Regions from separate parts of the Homo sapiens genome. Here region 2 is linked to region 1. Evidence: promoter capture Hi-C in human tissues and cell types (Jung and others, 2019). All regions are on one chromosome and are shown on one strand. The core of a region is centred on a gene start or on the middle of the fragment in contact, and the rest is flanking DNA. Distances in the headings are between cores, read along the strand shown.

Region 1 (2,790 bases), core at 95-2,594:
GCCCCGGGGCCTGCAGGCTGTGTATCGATCCCCCAGCCTCAGCCAACGCAAGTTCTCCCGACACAAACCCCTCCCTACCCTCTCGGCTTTCCCAGCCTTGCAGGCGTCTAACGCTATGCTCGAGGCGCCCTCCCCTCTTTCCCGCAATAAAGTAAACCCGGTGGATATTCATTCCCCTCCCTAACTCGCCTCCTTCTTTCCCCCTCCCCCCTCAGCTTACTAACCCCGCGCACAGAGCTCGCCGCCGGCGGGCCCCTTCCACCCAGTGTATCATAATGCCCAACGCTCTCCTCCTCCCCCTCTCTTAATCAGAAACGTGCTCGCGAGCCCCCCTCCCTCTGCGTGCATACATTAGGGTCTGCTTTGCATGCAGCGGCAGGCAGAGACCGGAGGAAGAAGGGGCGGGGGCGCTTTTGCCCGCCTCTTCCCTCCAGGCCCCGTTAGCCACCCAGCTTCAGCTTCGTTGTAACACCGCGTCGTTAGCGGAGCACGCCGTGGCCTCAGTGCCCGGGCTGGAGAAACACAACCCAACTCCCTGCAGAAGGGCACGAAAGCCAGACGAGTGCACAGTAGAGCGAGGAGGTGGCAGGAGACCTGCCACTCGGTGTGTGCTTTTTGGAAAGAGCTCCAGCATGAAAATGGGAGGGGCTCCTTTTTTATTTTTTAAAGTGCGTTCATTGAGGGCCTTTCTGTTTTGCATATAGTAAACTGGGCAGCGCTTCTGTTTTGCATGTAGTACAATAAGGGCTCTTTTATTCTAGAAGCGTTCAATTCGGGCTAACCCATCTTGTATCCGTGCCCTGGGGCGGAGGAGAAGGCTCACTGCTCCCCGACCCAGCCGCCGCGTTATACTGGAAGCTGCTCTCCCGGGCTGTTCGATTCCCAGCGCGTCCCGGGAACGTGTGTAATCGGCCTCTCGGCGCTCAAGGCTGCAGGCGGCCCGGCTCCCTACGCCTCCATCCTCCGCGTAGTCCTCGCCCCCTCCCCCTCTCTCCGGAACCCGCGCTCTGCTCCGGGCTCCCGGGCTTCCTTCCCCCCTCCTTTTCCCGAGCAATGCCTCTCCCGGAGGGCGGGGCATGCAGTTATCCAGGTTGCGGGGCCGGCGGGCGGGCAGGAGGCGGCGGCCCGGGCCTCGGGATGGAGTTGCAGCGCCCAGGCGTCAGAGGCGGAGGCCCGAGGCCGCTATACAGATTGCGGGGCTGGCGGGCGCGGCCCGGCGCTCTGCATAGCGGCCGGCAGGGTGCAGGCGGCCGGGCGGCGCAGAGCTGGTTAGGCAGGTTCCGGGGCCCCGTGCCCCCCCCTCCGCCTCCCCGCCCCCCTGTGTTGTCGCCTCTCCCTCTCGCTGCTTCACTTCACGGGGCGAACATGGCGCACAGCTGTCGGTGGCGCTTCCCCGCCCGACCCGGGACCACCGGGGGCGGCGGCGGCGGGGGGCGCCGGGGCCTAGGGGGCGCCCCGCGGCAACGCGTCCCGGCCCTGCTGCTTCCCCCCGGGCCCCCGGTCGGCGGTGGCGGCCCCGGGGCGCCCCCCTCCCCCCCGGCTGTGGCGGCCGCGGCGGCGGCGGCGGGAAGCAGCGGGGCTGGGGTTCCAGGGGGAGCGGCCGCCGCCTCAGCAGCCTCCTCGTCGTCCGCCTCGTCTTCGTCTTCGTCATCGTCCTCAGCCTCTTCAGGGCCGGCCCTGCTCCGGGTGGGCCCGGGCTTCGACGCGGCGCTGCAGGTCTCGGCCGCCATCGGCACCAACCTGCGCCGGTTCCGGGCCGTGTTTGGGGAGAGCGGCGGGGGAGGCGGCAGCGGAGAGGTAAGGGGGCGAGGAACCCCCAGGTCCGGGGTCTCGACCCTCTGCGGAGCCCCCTCCCCTCCCCCATCCGGGATTGAGGAGCATCCCAATTCTGGGACCATCTCGGGGTCCCTGACCCGGGGCGAATGGCTCTCCCATCTTGGGACCCCCATGCAGGGCTGCAGACCCCCAGGCGCCCCCACCCCGGGGTTTGGGCCCATCTGGCTGAGGGCGTTTGCCCCCCGCTCTCCTCCCCCTGACCCTTCCCCAAATCCCTTGGCACAGACCCCCTCGCCGGGGTTTCCCATCCCGGGACTGAACCCCTCCTCCCTTTCACAGATTACCTCATCCGAGCAAGATTCCTCCCTCCCTCCCTCCTAGAGACCTGATCCCGCCACATCCCCGCCTCCCTCTCTGGGCAGATGTGTTACTCCTAGGGCAGTTTTCCTCTCGGGCGTCTCTCGGGTGATGGCCTCATCCAGGGCCACGTTCTCCTGGCCCTTGGGGATCGTGTCCCTTCCAGCACCTTGCTTTCGAAAACCCGATGAACCCTCGCGCCATCCCCGGGCCAGGTCCCTATACTGCCAGCCACTCCCCCTTCCTTCACCTCCACCCTCTACCCCCACCCCAAGCAGACCGATCCTCCCCCATCCCGCCCTACCCCACCGGGGAAAATCTCTCCTCTGCACCTTGCCTGGTCTCACCTCCTTTCCCTCTGAAGATAACGGTGATTCCTCATACAGCAGTCTCTTCCCCCCCCCGCCCCGTCTTACAGGGCTACAGTTTCTAGCCTATTGGTAGCCGGGAATTACTCTACCTTCACTCCACCCTTTCCCTCCTTTAGAATGAAGGATTAGTGGCATCTTGGAGGGGAAAATAGTCCACTGTCCCCTAGGCTTAGAGAAGAGCAGCTTTCCACCACTCCCCTTGGAGAGGAGGCAGGCTTTCCCTCCAGCTCTGGGGAAGGGGGCCCCTGTGAGGGGAGGTGTTTGTTGGGGGACTGAGGCAGCATCC
Region 2 (2,790 bases), core at 213-2,712, 1.1 Mb before region 1:
GGGGGGCTCCAACAACAGAAATCTCTTTTCTCATAGTTCTGGAAGCTAGAAGGCCCATATCAAAGTCTGTTGCTGGTTCCTGTCTTGCAGACAGCTGCCTTCTTGCTGTGTCCTCAGATGGTAGAGAGAGACCTCTAAGCCACTAGACAGTGGGCCCCATCTGCTGCCCTGGTTCCTGGTCCTTTCTTCCTCTCCTTTTAATCCTATCAGGCCATTTAACCTTAATGACCTCATTTAACTTTAATTACCTCCTAAAGAACCAGTCACATTGTGGATTAGGGCTTCAATATGTGTATTTTTCTTACTTTGAGAGGCTGAGGCGGGAGCATTGCTTGCACCCAGGAGTTCAAGACCAGCCAGGGCAACATAGTGAGACACCATCTCTGTAAAAAAAAAAAAAAGTAAAATATATACATATGTGAATTTTGAAGGGATGTAGCTCCTTTCCACTTTTCCCCCATATCCTGGTCCTATTAAGCTTAACATCACTGGGTCTGTTCTGACTGTCTCTTCTTCATTCCCCTGCTTCTGCCCTAGTTAAAGTCCTTATCATCTCGCCCCTGGGCAGCAGCCTCCTCAGGTGGTTTTCCTGACACCAGTCTCTCATTTCTCCAATCCAGCCATGCCAGTCTTGCCAGAATTCTTGTCCTAAAAAAAGGCCACCCTGTGATACTTTGTTTCACCAGAGCCCTCAGTGACTCCCCTCTGGTGTAGGACAGGGTGGAGGCTCTTTAGCACGGTCTGCAAGGCTCACTGTGACCAGCCGGTCACACATGTTGGTATCCCCACTCTGGAACACCTGTCTGTGCAAGATGCTCCCTCTGTTTAGAATGCCTTTCTCCCCCATCAGAATTCTTGCCAGCCTTCCTTCCTTCCTTCCTTTTTTTGGGGAAATTTTTTGCCCTTATCTTAGCACTCTCAGAACAGGAAGTTTTTTTCCCTTCTGCCTTCTGCTGCTCTTGAGGTCGTTCCCGCCACTGGATTGTAAGCTTCCTGAGGGCATTTTGGATATGAATCGGGACATCCAGATGGGCATATGTGTTGAGATGGGGGTGTGCCACGGAGATGTGCTGGTGTATGGGGGTCTGTGCTGCTGGTTATTTTGGTGTCACTAGGATTTTTACTTGGTGGTTCTGTATTATAATTGTTTCTTCTATCTGGGGGAGGCACAAAGTCAAACTCTTGACAGAGCCAGGCTTGAAGATGTTTTGTGGTTCACCAGGTGTTCATCAAGCCTTTGGGAGACCTTTGCCAGGTGCAGAGCCTGTGAGCCTTGAGTTGTTGGTTTCACCCTCCACTATACCTGGCGCCTGGGAAGGCCCTGGCCAAATTGCTCTGCAGGGTCTGGTTTGACCCAGATGCTCCATGACCCAGTGCCAACTTTTCCCCTGTTAAGCTTGGTCACTGATTTTTCTCTTTTGGTGGGGGCCTCTGGGATCTAGGTGTTTGAGCCCAGATGAGTCATGGCTGGACGACCCCTCCGCATAGGAGATCAGCTGGTTCTGGAAGAAGATTATGATGAGACCTACATTCCTAGTGAGCAAGGTAACAAGTCTGTGAAGAGGCCTGTGGTGTATTGTGTTTGTTTTTTGAGGACAGGGATTGTCTGGTTTATTTTTATTCTTTCAGTGCAAAGTATGGTACATGTACAGAGTTGCTTAGTATATTCGGGTTAGATCAAATGTGAGCCTACCTTGGCCTCTTGCCTGTTTTTTTTTAAGTTTCTTTCTGTTGCCCAGGCTGGAGTGCAGTGGCGTGATCTCAGCTCACTGCAACCTCTGCCTCCCAGGTTCAAGTGATTCTCCCACCTCAGCCTCCCGAGAAGCTGGGATTACAGGCGTGCACCACCACACCTGGCTAATTTTTTGTACTTTTAGTAGAGACGGGTTTCACCATGTTGGACAAGCTGGTCTCGAACTCCCGACCTCAAGCGGTTTGCCTGCCTCCGGCTCCCAAAGTGCTGGGATTACAGGCGTGAGCCACCTTGCCTGGCTACTTGCCTATTTTTGTAAATACACCTTCATTGGAAAACAGCCACAATGGTTTATGTATTGTGTGTGGCTGCTTCTATGCTACAGCTGCAGAGATATGTGGCTGTTAAGAGAGGTATATGACCCACAAAGGGTAAGATAGTTACTCTCCGGTTGTTTACAGAAAAAGTTTGCTGTCTTTGGGTTAGAGCAGTGATTAGATTTAAATGGAAACATAGTAGGGGGTATCTAAATACAGTGTGTTCTGAGACCAGGGGAAACCCAATTTCCTAAGCACGAACTTAGAGCAGTGTTTTTTTAAACAACAATAACATTATTAGTAACAATAACAACATAACTTATTATGTGCCAGCGTCTGTTTTAAGCACTTTGCATGTATTACCTTATTACCTTTTCCTTTGTTTTTTGTTTTTTTTTTTTTTTTTTTTTTTTGAGACAGAGTCTCACTCTGTCACCCAGGCTGGAATGCAGTGGTATGATCTTGGCTCACTGCAACCTCTCTCTCCCGGGTTCAAGCGAATCTCATGCCTCAGCCTCCTGAGTAGCTAGAACTACAGGTGCCCACCACCACACCTGGGGAACTAATTTTTGTATTTTTAGTAGAGAAGGGGTTTTGCAGTGTTGGCCAGGCTGGTCTCAAACTGACCTCAAGTGATCTTCCCACCTCCACTTCCCAGAGTGCTGGGATTACAGGCGGGAGACACCATGCCTGGCCCATGTATTACCTTTTCAACCCTCACTGCAACTCCATGAGTTAGGTACTATTATTATCCCCATTTTACAGATGAGGAAATCAAGG

What was found. The method cuts DNA at HindIII sites, captures the fragments that hold promoters and counts their contacts. A contact is called where the count stands out against the background at its distance.
Region 2: a contact is called between a fragment that was not itself captured here and the fragment with the promoter of KMT2A in region 1, in 1 of the 25 tissues and cell types used here (dorsolateral prefrontal cortex).

The regions. Positions count from the first base shown.
Region 1 is chr11:118,435,148-118,437,937 of GRCh38, forward strand. It overlaps KMT2A (lysine methyltransferase 2A), which reads left to right and starts at 1,345. Exons shown (of 36, transcript NM_001197104.2): 1 at 1,345-1,797. The coding sequence starts at 1,366. RefSeq lists enhancers at 317-1,314, 514-653, 1,315-2,313, 2,314-2,790 and a silencer at 964-1,443. The HindIII fragment of the contact is 10,858 bases long and covers 1-2,790 here.
Region 2 is chr11:117,337,124-117,339,913 of GRCh38, forward strand. It overlaps CEP164 (centrosomal protein 164), which reads left to right. Exons shown (of 33, transcript NM_014956.5): 3 at 1,443-1,545. The coding sequence starts at 1,464. Among named protein-coding and RNA genes, the nearest start is that of CEP164, 11 kb to the left of the region's middle. The HindIII fragment of the contact is 3,425 bases long and covers 1-2,790 here.